2 separate regions of the Homo sapiens genome follow, and region 2 is linked to region 1. The links are contacts of gene promoters, found by promoter capture Hi-C in human tissues and cell types (Jung and others, 2019). All regions are on one chromosome and are shown on one strand. Each heading gives the region's core, a stretch centred on a gene start or on the middle of the fragment in contact. The rest is flanking DNA. Distances are from core to core; before and after follow the strand shown. Region 1 holds the start of TPSD1 (tryptase delta 1). Region 2 overlaps JPT2 (Jupiter microtubule associated homolog 2).

Region 1 (4,274 bases), core at 1,090-3,589:
ATCCCCAGCCCCGCGCGCACTCCCGGACTCCGCCCCTCTCATCTGGTGGTTCTCGTTTCCGACGCGGCTCCCACGTCTCTCTGCATCTCCGGCACTCGGCCGAGGACGCCGGGGGGAACCCCCTGCGGATGCCCGGAGCTCTCCGTGCAGTTCTCCGCCTCGTGAGTCATGGCTGCCGGGGCCTCTGCACGCGCCAGGTGCGTCTCCCCAGCCCAGCAAGCTCCTGGGGCTGAGTTTCCCATCGCTGCCCTGAGTCTGGGCGCGGCCACTGTCGTCTCACCCGACTCCCCACCCTTCTCTCGGGGACACTGCCCCACGTGGCCTCTTGCCCAGTGTCTGTCAATGGCCTGGGACCCCAGCCCTGCAGCAGCCCCAGGGGAGCGGCCGGGGATCGGGGCGGGGTGCCCAGGACGCGCCCTGATTGGCCCAGTGTTAGCCAATCAAGGCTCTCGCATCCCCATGGTGCTGATTGGTCCGCCTCCCAGGCCTGACCCAATCGGAGCATTCCTAGGAGGAGCGGCCCCAGAGCCCCTGACTCGGGGGTCCCAGAGCCCTCTGCACACCACAGCCCCGGTGTCCCCGTGTGTCCCTGGGTTCTCCCAGCCCTGGTGTCCCCTGAGTCTCTTCTTCACCGTCAGCCCTGGTGTCTCCCGTGTCCCTGCCACACCCTCATCCCTGGTGTCCCCCGTCACCCCATCCCCTCACCTCCTGGGCTCCTGAAGGTCCCATCTTGTGGGCCTCATTCATGGAACCAGGACGGGGCAGGTGGAGGCCTCTGGGGAGTTTGTCCAGAGAATGGAGGAGAAGCAGGGTCATGAGCAGGAGCGGTCTGGGCCACCCCTGCCTGTCCCCCGGGGGGTGCAGCCCGGAAGGAGTCCAGATGGATATGGCCCCGCAGTGCAGAGTCAGCCTCAAACCAGGCTGGTCCCAGGCAGGGTGGGGGCAGGAGGAGCCCCGGAGTGGCCCTGTGTTGGGGGTCGGGGGGCAGGCAGGGGGTCCTGGGGCTCAGAAGCAGAGGAGGTGGGCTGGAGGCCCCAGTGACCAACAGGCCCAGGTGAGTCAGGAGGTGGGGTGGACGGAGCTGCAGGGACAGTGTCAGCGCTGAATGGGATGGAGAGCACAGGGAGCTGGGGCCGGGGGTGAGACCAAGGGGAGCTGGGCTGGGGCTGGGGGTGAGTCCATGGGGAGCTGGGGCCGGGGGCTGGGACTAGTCCATGGGGAGCTGGGCTGGGGCTGGGGGTGAGACCATGGGGAGCTGGGCTGGGGCTGGGACTAGTCCATGGGGAGCTGGGCTGGGGCTGGGACTAGTTCATGGGGAGCTGGGCTGGGGCTGGGGGTGAGTCCATGGGGAGCTGGGCTGGGGCTGGGGGTGAGTCCATGGGGAGCTGGACTGGGGCTGTGGGTGAGTCCATGGGGAGCTGGGGCTGGGGCTGGGACTACTCCATGGGGAGCTGGGGCTGGGGCTGGGACTAGTCCATGGGGAGCTGGGCTGGGGCTGTGGGTGAGTCCATGGGGAGCTGGGCTGGGGCTGGGGGTGAGTCCATGGGGAGCTGGGCTGGGTCTCCTGGGGTTGCACCTGCACTCCTGTCTGCCCTTCCCTCTGCGGATGAAGCTCAGATCCCATGATAAGAAGGCACCTGCAGACCAGGGGACCTGCACGGACAGCCCCAGAGGTGGACATTGAGGAATCGTTGGAGGACTTGGGTCTCATACGGGAGGTGGGGAGCAGGGCCCCTTCCTGGCTGAGGACACTTGGTGCTGTCCCCTCTCAAGGCTGTTTCCCCATCTGACAAAGGGGTCTCATGTGAGCCCCCAACCAAGTGAGTCGAGGAGGGCTGGCCCCACCCCCGTGGATTCGGAGTCCGTAGGAGGGGTGTCACCCGTCATGTCCCCACCCCGTGGGCACCTTCCCGTCTCTTGGAGGGTGGCCCATGGACATGAGTTCCTCACCCCGTGTCCCTCTTGGGGAAACAGGTTTCAGGAGCGACGGGTCTTGTAGCCTGGGGCAGCCAGGCCACCTGGGTGCAGCTATGCCTGAAGGCCTCCTGGCACCGAGACAGGGGCAGGAGCAGATCCCACCAGCGGGAAGGTGGTGGGTTCCAGTGCTGGGATCCACCAGCTGACAGGTGGAGCTGCGAGCCTCCAGTGCTCAGCCCTCGGCGGGGCCTGCCTGGCAGCCCCACACACAGAGGGCATCGGGGTGGCGGGGGCATGTGTTACACGGGGGCCCTGGGTCTGAGTCATCCACTTCCTCCGAGTCTGGATGGGAGGACCCAGCGCCCCTCCTCCGCCCCCTCCTGATCTGGAAGCATAAATGGGGAGGGGAGAGCCCGCTGGGTAGAAGGAACAGGGAGTGGCCAGGGTAAGTCCCTACTCTCAGAGACCCTGACATCAGCGTCACCTGGAGCAGAGTGGCCCAGCCTCAGACTCAGAGCACCAAGACCCAGGCCCGCAGGCCTGGACCCACCCCGGTCCCCCCGTCCCAGCTCCATTCTTCACCCCACAATCTGTAGCCCCCAGCCCTGCCCTGTGAGGCCCGGCCAGGCCCACGATGCTCCTCCTTGCTCCCCAGATGCTGAGCCTGCTGCTGCTGGCGCTGCCCGTCCTGGCGAGCCCGGCCTACGTGGCCCCTGGTGAGTCCCAGCCGGGGTCCACCCTGCCCCTCACCACATTCCACAGATCAGGGCCTGGGTGGGTTCTGGGGAGGCCGGGCTGGCCCCCACACAGGGAAGGGCTGGTCCCAGGCGTGGGGCGGCTTCTTGGTCCTGACCTGGCACCTGCCCCAGCCCCAGGCCAGGCCCTGCAGCAAACGGGCATTGTTGGGGGGCAGGAGGCCCCCAGGAGCAAGTGGCCCTGGCAGGTGAGCCTGAGAGTCCGCGGCCCATACTGGATGCACTTCTGCGGGGGCTCCCTCATCCACCCCCAGTGGGTGCTAACCGCGGCGCACTGCGTGGAACCGTGAGTCTCCTGGGGCCTGGAGGGGTGGGCAAGGGCTGGATGTGAGCCCTGGCTCCCGGGTGCTCCTGGGGGCTGCCCAGGGCCCTGAGTGGGATCCTCCGCTGCCCAGGGACATCAAGGATCTGGCCGCCCTCAGGGTGCAACTGCGGGAGCAGCACCTCTACTACCAGGACCAGCTGCTGCCGGTCAGCAGGATCATCGTGCACCCACAGTTCTACATCATCCAGACCGGGGCGGACATCGCCCTGCTGGAGCTGGAGGAGCCCGTGAACATCTCCAGCCACATCCACACGGTCACGCTGCCCCCTGCCTCGGAGACCTTCCCCCCGGGGATGCCGTGCTGGGTCACTGGCTGGGGCGACGTGGACAATAATGGTGGGTGTTGGGGACAGCGGGAGGCCGGGCCAGGTGGGCACCAAGTCACAGCCACAGGCCAGTCCGTGGGGTGACAGGGTCCCTCAGGGCGGCTCAGGGAGGGGGACTGTGGAGGCCAGGATGGATGGAGCAGGCGGTGGCGAGAGGCAGCAGGTGCCCTGAGCAGAGACGGTGAGTCCAAAGGGCCTGGGCGTCCCCCACCCCAGGGGTTTGGAGAGTCCCTTAGCACCTCCGTGCCTCGGTTTCCCCTTGCCTGAAAGGGTGCATCAAAAGTTTGTACGTCACGGACTTGCTATGTGGAGAGAGAAATCACACGGGGGTCTTGCTGGAAGGAGAGAGACCGGTGCTGGGATGAGACCTGCCTGCCCTCCATCCCTGTGCTACAGACAAGGCAGGGGCCTGGGAATCGGGGTCGTGGCAGTGCTGTGGGGGGCTGGACGAAGCTCACTGTGGCCCTCCACGAGGCACATTTTCACTTCTAGAAGGTCTTGTCCCCATTTTATCCACAATTCAGAGCAAAGCTTTGGGGTACAGCCTGAGCGGCAACCCTGGGCTGTGACCTCTGGGTCACTCAGAAGGGGCCTGAGCCACTGTCCCGCTATTCCGCCCCACACAGCGGGGAAGCTGAGCCCAGCGCCCTGTGTTCCCCTCGGCTAGGGCCAACCGTGGACCATGGGCCTAGCCCAGACGAAAGTCAGCTGAGCCCAGGGGGAGACACGGGTCGGGCTCTGCACCCCCGTGCCATGGAGCCCAGCTTGGCAACCTCCAGGGCCCTCCCCTCCCTTCCCCAGATGGGGCTTAAATGAGGCCAGGGACCCAGGACCAGCCTCAGCGGAGGGGCCTGGACTGCATTCACCGCCCCTTCCCCGGGGCTGCAGGCACAGAACAGCACTGGGCCCATGGTGCCATCTCCCCTGCCCGTGACTCTGCCACCAAGTCCA
Region 2 (4,392 bases), core at 663-3,162, 440 kb after region 1:
CTTGAGATGGAAGAAATGGGAGTGGTGTCTAACAAGCAATATAAAGAAACAATTCACTTAGGAAGAAATCAAGGAGTATTTACAGTAGCAAGCCCCAACTTTATGCCCATTTCAAAACTGCATCTGCTAATTACAGTGAGTTGTTTTGGTACCAGATGAAAAGCCTGTCTATATTGTCTTCTCTTTCCCAGTTACAGCATGAATTTCTTGCAGGTTGCTCTATGACACACTTTTTATTTCCACAGCCTGCCTGTCAGGGTCATGGGTTGCCTCTAATGGGATGTTGTTCTAACTTTGTGTCCCACAGCTGCAAGGAGCATCCCGGCTGGAGCAGAGCCAGGTGAGAAAGGCAGCGCCAGAAAAGCAGGCCCCGCCAAGGAGCAGGAGCCCATGCCCACAGTCGACAGCCATGAGCCCCGGCTGGGGCCGCGGCCTCGCTCTCACAACAAGGTCCTGAACCCACCGGGAGGCAAATCCAGCATCTCCTTCTACTAAGAGAAGCCACTGCTCCACCCGGAGCCAGACCAGAAACTCAAGAGATAGGGTAGCCATGTTTTCATTTCCTTTTGCCCAAATGAGCGGGGTGGGAAGAGGGTTAGTCTTATGTGAGCCTGGCTGCTCAGCGTCTCCTGGCCGTCATGACAGCTGCTTGGAGACCCGTGCCTTCCAGATGGCTGGGAGATGCCTCTGTGGGGATGAAATGGGGCACCCCTGGCCATCACTCATGTGTAGTCCAGGTTTGAGAGGAACTGGAAGGGGGGTGAGGGTGGGGAGGTGGGGCAGGGCATGGTCCTTGGATCAACAGCCCGCCAGCTGATTGGATGTCTAGGAATGACTGAAAGAAACCAAAACAGCCTGTCCACTGCTGCTGTGGGATGGAGGAGGCGTAAGCAGAAACACTAACAGTATATTGACCTCTTAGCAGAACCGCTTCCATTCTGGAGATCACGGCTGCTAAATCCAGCATCCCCACTTCATTTTACCCCCAGCATATTGTTCTGTAGTCTTTTCTTGAAACATCTTGATTGCTTTTCCTCGGCAGCTTTCAAAAAACCAAATAATAATAGTTATCCGTCTTCTACTTCATGGAAGATTGTTTTGGTGCCCTGACCCTCTGAAGTGCCCAGTTCCTGCCATCTGAAACCTCGGCCTGATCTGATCTCATGTTGGAATCTGCCTGTCTTTCACACAGGGCTGGTCTTGGTCCTTTACATGCCAGTTTTGCTTGTGAATTCTTGCTTTTTTCCTCTCATCAGCCTTAAGTTTAGGCGTTTGTTGTTCTCCAGTGATGTAGACAGTTCCCTTCACAAGTCACAGTTCTTCCCATAAATGAGGCCCGCTGACCTCTGCGGGACTTTAAAAATCTATTCAGATATTTCCGAGTAAGTGGCTTGTTTAAATTCTTCCTGTGTCTTTCTTTATTCCTTAATTGGTTGGTGGAAAGAAGAGATGCTTGGGAACCTTGGGTTCTTAGGTTTGGATTCTTTAATAATATCTAAAAAGCTAAATTTTAAATACCAGCTTTACATAAATGATTGTTGACTCTGGTCTGTTTCTGACACCTTTCCAGAAAAAAGTCAATTGTTCAGGTACACCAAAGAGGAAGAAGAGCTGTGGAGGCCACCCTCTACAAAGCTTTATAGAACTTCTGGATCTAACTCACAAACAAGCTTCCAGAAGAGACTAGAGACCTTAGGCCAGGAGATGAAGGAGTTCAGTAGCAAAGTCACACCTGTCCAATTCCCTGAGCTTTGCTCACTCAGCTAATGGGATGGCAAAGGTGGTGGTGCTTTCATCTTCAGGCAGAAGCCTCTGCCCATCCCCCTCAAGGGCTGCAGGCCCAGTTCTCATGCTGCCCTTGGGTGGGCATCTGTTAACAGAGGAGAACGTCTGGGTGGCGGCAGCAGCTTTGCTCTGAGTGCCTACAAAGCTAATGCTTGGTGCTAGAAACATCATCATTATTAAACTTCAGAAAAGCAGCAGCCATGTTCAGTCAGGCTCATGCTGCCTCACTGCTTAAGTGCCTGCAGGAGCCGCCTGCCAAGCTCCCCTTCCTACACCTGGCACACTGGGGTCTGCACAAGGCTTTGTCAACCAAAGACAGCTTCCCCCTTTTGATTGCCTGTAGACTTTGGAGCCAAGAAACACTCTGTGTGACTCTACACACACTTCAGGTGGTTTGTGCTTCAAAGTCATTGATGCAACTTGAAAGGAAACAGTTTAATGGTGGAAATGAACTACCATTTATAACTTCTGTTTTTTTATTGAGAAAATGATTCACGAATTCCAAATCAGATTGCCAGGAAGAAATAGGACGTGACGGTACTGGGCCCTGTGATTCTCCCAGCCCTTGCAGTCCGCTAGGTGAGAGGAAAAGCTCTTTACTTCCGCCCCTGGCAGGGACTTCTGGGTTATGGGAGAAACCAGAGATGGGAATGAGGAAAATATGAACTACAGCAGAAGCCCCTGGGCAGCTGTGATGGAGCCCCTGACATTACTCTTCTTGCATCTGTCCTGCCTTCTTTCCCTCTGCGAGGCAGTGGGGTGGGATTCAGAGTGCTTAGTCTGCTCACTGGGAGAAGAAGAGTTCCTGCGCATGCAAGCCCTGCTGTGTGGCTGTCGTTTACATTTGGGAGGTGTCCTGTATGTCTGTACGTTGGGGACTGCCTGTATTTGGAAGATTTAAAAACCTAGCATCCTGTTCTCACCCTCTAAGCTGCATTGAGAAATGACTCGTCTCTGTATTTGTATTAAGCCTTAACACTTTTCTTAAGTGCATTCGGTGCCAACATTTTTTAGAGCTGTACCAAAACAAAAAGCCTGTACTCACATCACAATGTCATTTTGATAGGAGCGTTTTGTTATTTTTACAAGGCAGAATGGGGTGTAACAGTTGAATTAAACTTAGCAATCACGTGCTCAGAGCTTTTGCCTGTCAGTTGTGTGTGTCCCTTATAGTCCCTTCCCCCACAGCTCTTGCTGAAAGAGTTTGCCTTGTTTTGTTTTGTTGTTTTGTATTTAGCCAGAGGATGCCAAAATTAGTCTTCTCAAAGCTTTGAGTAGAGTAAGTGTGGGAATAAGCCAGTTTTTTTTTTTCTGTTTCTGTAACTTAAATGAACGGGTTTTTTTCCCTTGTATGCCACTTGTCCTAACATGTCCTTAAGGTGTTTAACCTGCCTCTGACCTGGCTTGCAATGCATAGGTGAGGAGAAGCAGAGAGCTTGTCATATGCAAGTCCTGTCAAGAAAACAGGTGGGCATGGTGGCTCAGGTCTGTAGTCTTTGGGTCTTTGGGAGGCCAGGGTGGGAGGATCACTTGAGCTCAGGAGTTTGAGACCAGCCTAGACAACATACTACGACCCTGTCTATACAAAAAAAAACTTCTCTAAATTAGCCGGATGTGGTGGTGCATGCCTGTAGTCCCAGCTACTCGGGAGGCTGAGTGAGGCAGGAGGATCACTTGAGACCAGGAGGTTGTGGCTGTAGTGAGTGATGATCATGCCACTGCACTTCAGCCTGGACCACAGAGCAAGACCCTGTGTAAAAAAATAAAATAAAAAACAGATTGGATGTCTTTCTTCTGATGTATTAGCTATTTTCATATGTTTTCTAACATACTTAATATCCTTACAGGCATTATGTGGATTCAGGGTAAACTTCTCAGACTGTGAGCCTGAGAGTTCCTCTCTAGGAGGCTCCACACCATTCTGCCTGCTAGATCGGGGCCAGATGAGATGAAAGTCAACGCTTGAGAAAGAAAACCAACATGCATTAACTGAAACACCGTCTTCACTTGTTCATCCACAGGGTATAGAGCGAGTTCCAAGAACCAGGCTAGGAAATGACACGCTAAGTTTCCTATTTCTAGCAGCTGCCAAGGCCACCAGCAAGCATGGGAACCTCTGGGAGTCACAGCTCCTCCGTCTCCAGAGGCCTGGCAGTGGCCAAGTCTAGAAGGACGCGGGTGCCACCTGGTACAGGGTGAGGGTGTGAATAACAGACCCCGAAGGGTTGCCACCTCGAGCCCCGTGCCTTGTCCAGGAATACACAGGCTCTTTTGATGTCAGGTAACTTTGCCATATGATCTTTGTGGTGTACCTGGTAGGTCACACCCTGTGAGTGTGTAGATGCCTCCTCCCGTGCTGGCTGCTTAATTTCTTCTGCACTCATAATCCTGACCATCTTGAAGATCATCACTGAAATACTCCTGTGTAATGTGTGGCTACAAAGTGCTATCTAAAGATGCTCTCTCAAACTCAGCTCATGAAGATGAGAGGAACATCACAGGGAACTGTGTGGCTTCTTAGCAGGCATCAGGGCAGATACTTAGAAATTAAAGTTGAATTTTAGAAACTTACATTTTATATTTTAATGCCCATCTTACATTTTAAGG

What was found. The method cuts DNA at HindIII sites, captures the fragments that hold promoters and counts their contacts. A contact is called where the count stands out against the background at its distance.
Region 2: a fragment that was not itself captured here is called in contact with the fragment with the promoter of TPSD1 in region 1 in 3 of the 25 tissues and cell types used here (H1 embryonic stem cells, lymphoblastoid cells and spleen).

The regions. Positions count from the first base shown.
Region 1 is chr16:1,253,730-1,258,003 of GRCh38, forward strand. TPSD1 (tryptase delta 1) reads left to right here and starts at 2,340. Exons shown (of 5, transcript NM_012217.3): 1 at 2,340-2,633; 2 at 2,787-2,958; 3 at 3,068-3,333. The coding sequence starts at 2,552. The HindIII fragment of the contact is 12,300 bases long and covers 1-4,274 here.
Region 2 is chr16:1,698,504-1,702,895 of GRCh38, forward strand. JPT2 (Jupiter microtubule associated homolog 2) reads left to right here. Exons shown (of 5, transcript NM_144570.3): 5 at 308-3,583. The coding sequence ends at 495. Among named protein-coding and RNA genes, the nearest start is that of MAPK8IP3, 5.5 kb to the right of the region's middle. The HindIII fragment of the contact is 5,896 bases long and covers 1-4,392 here.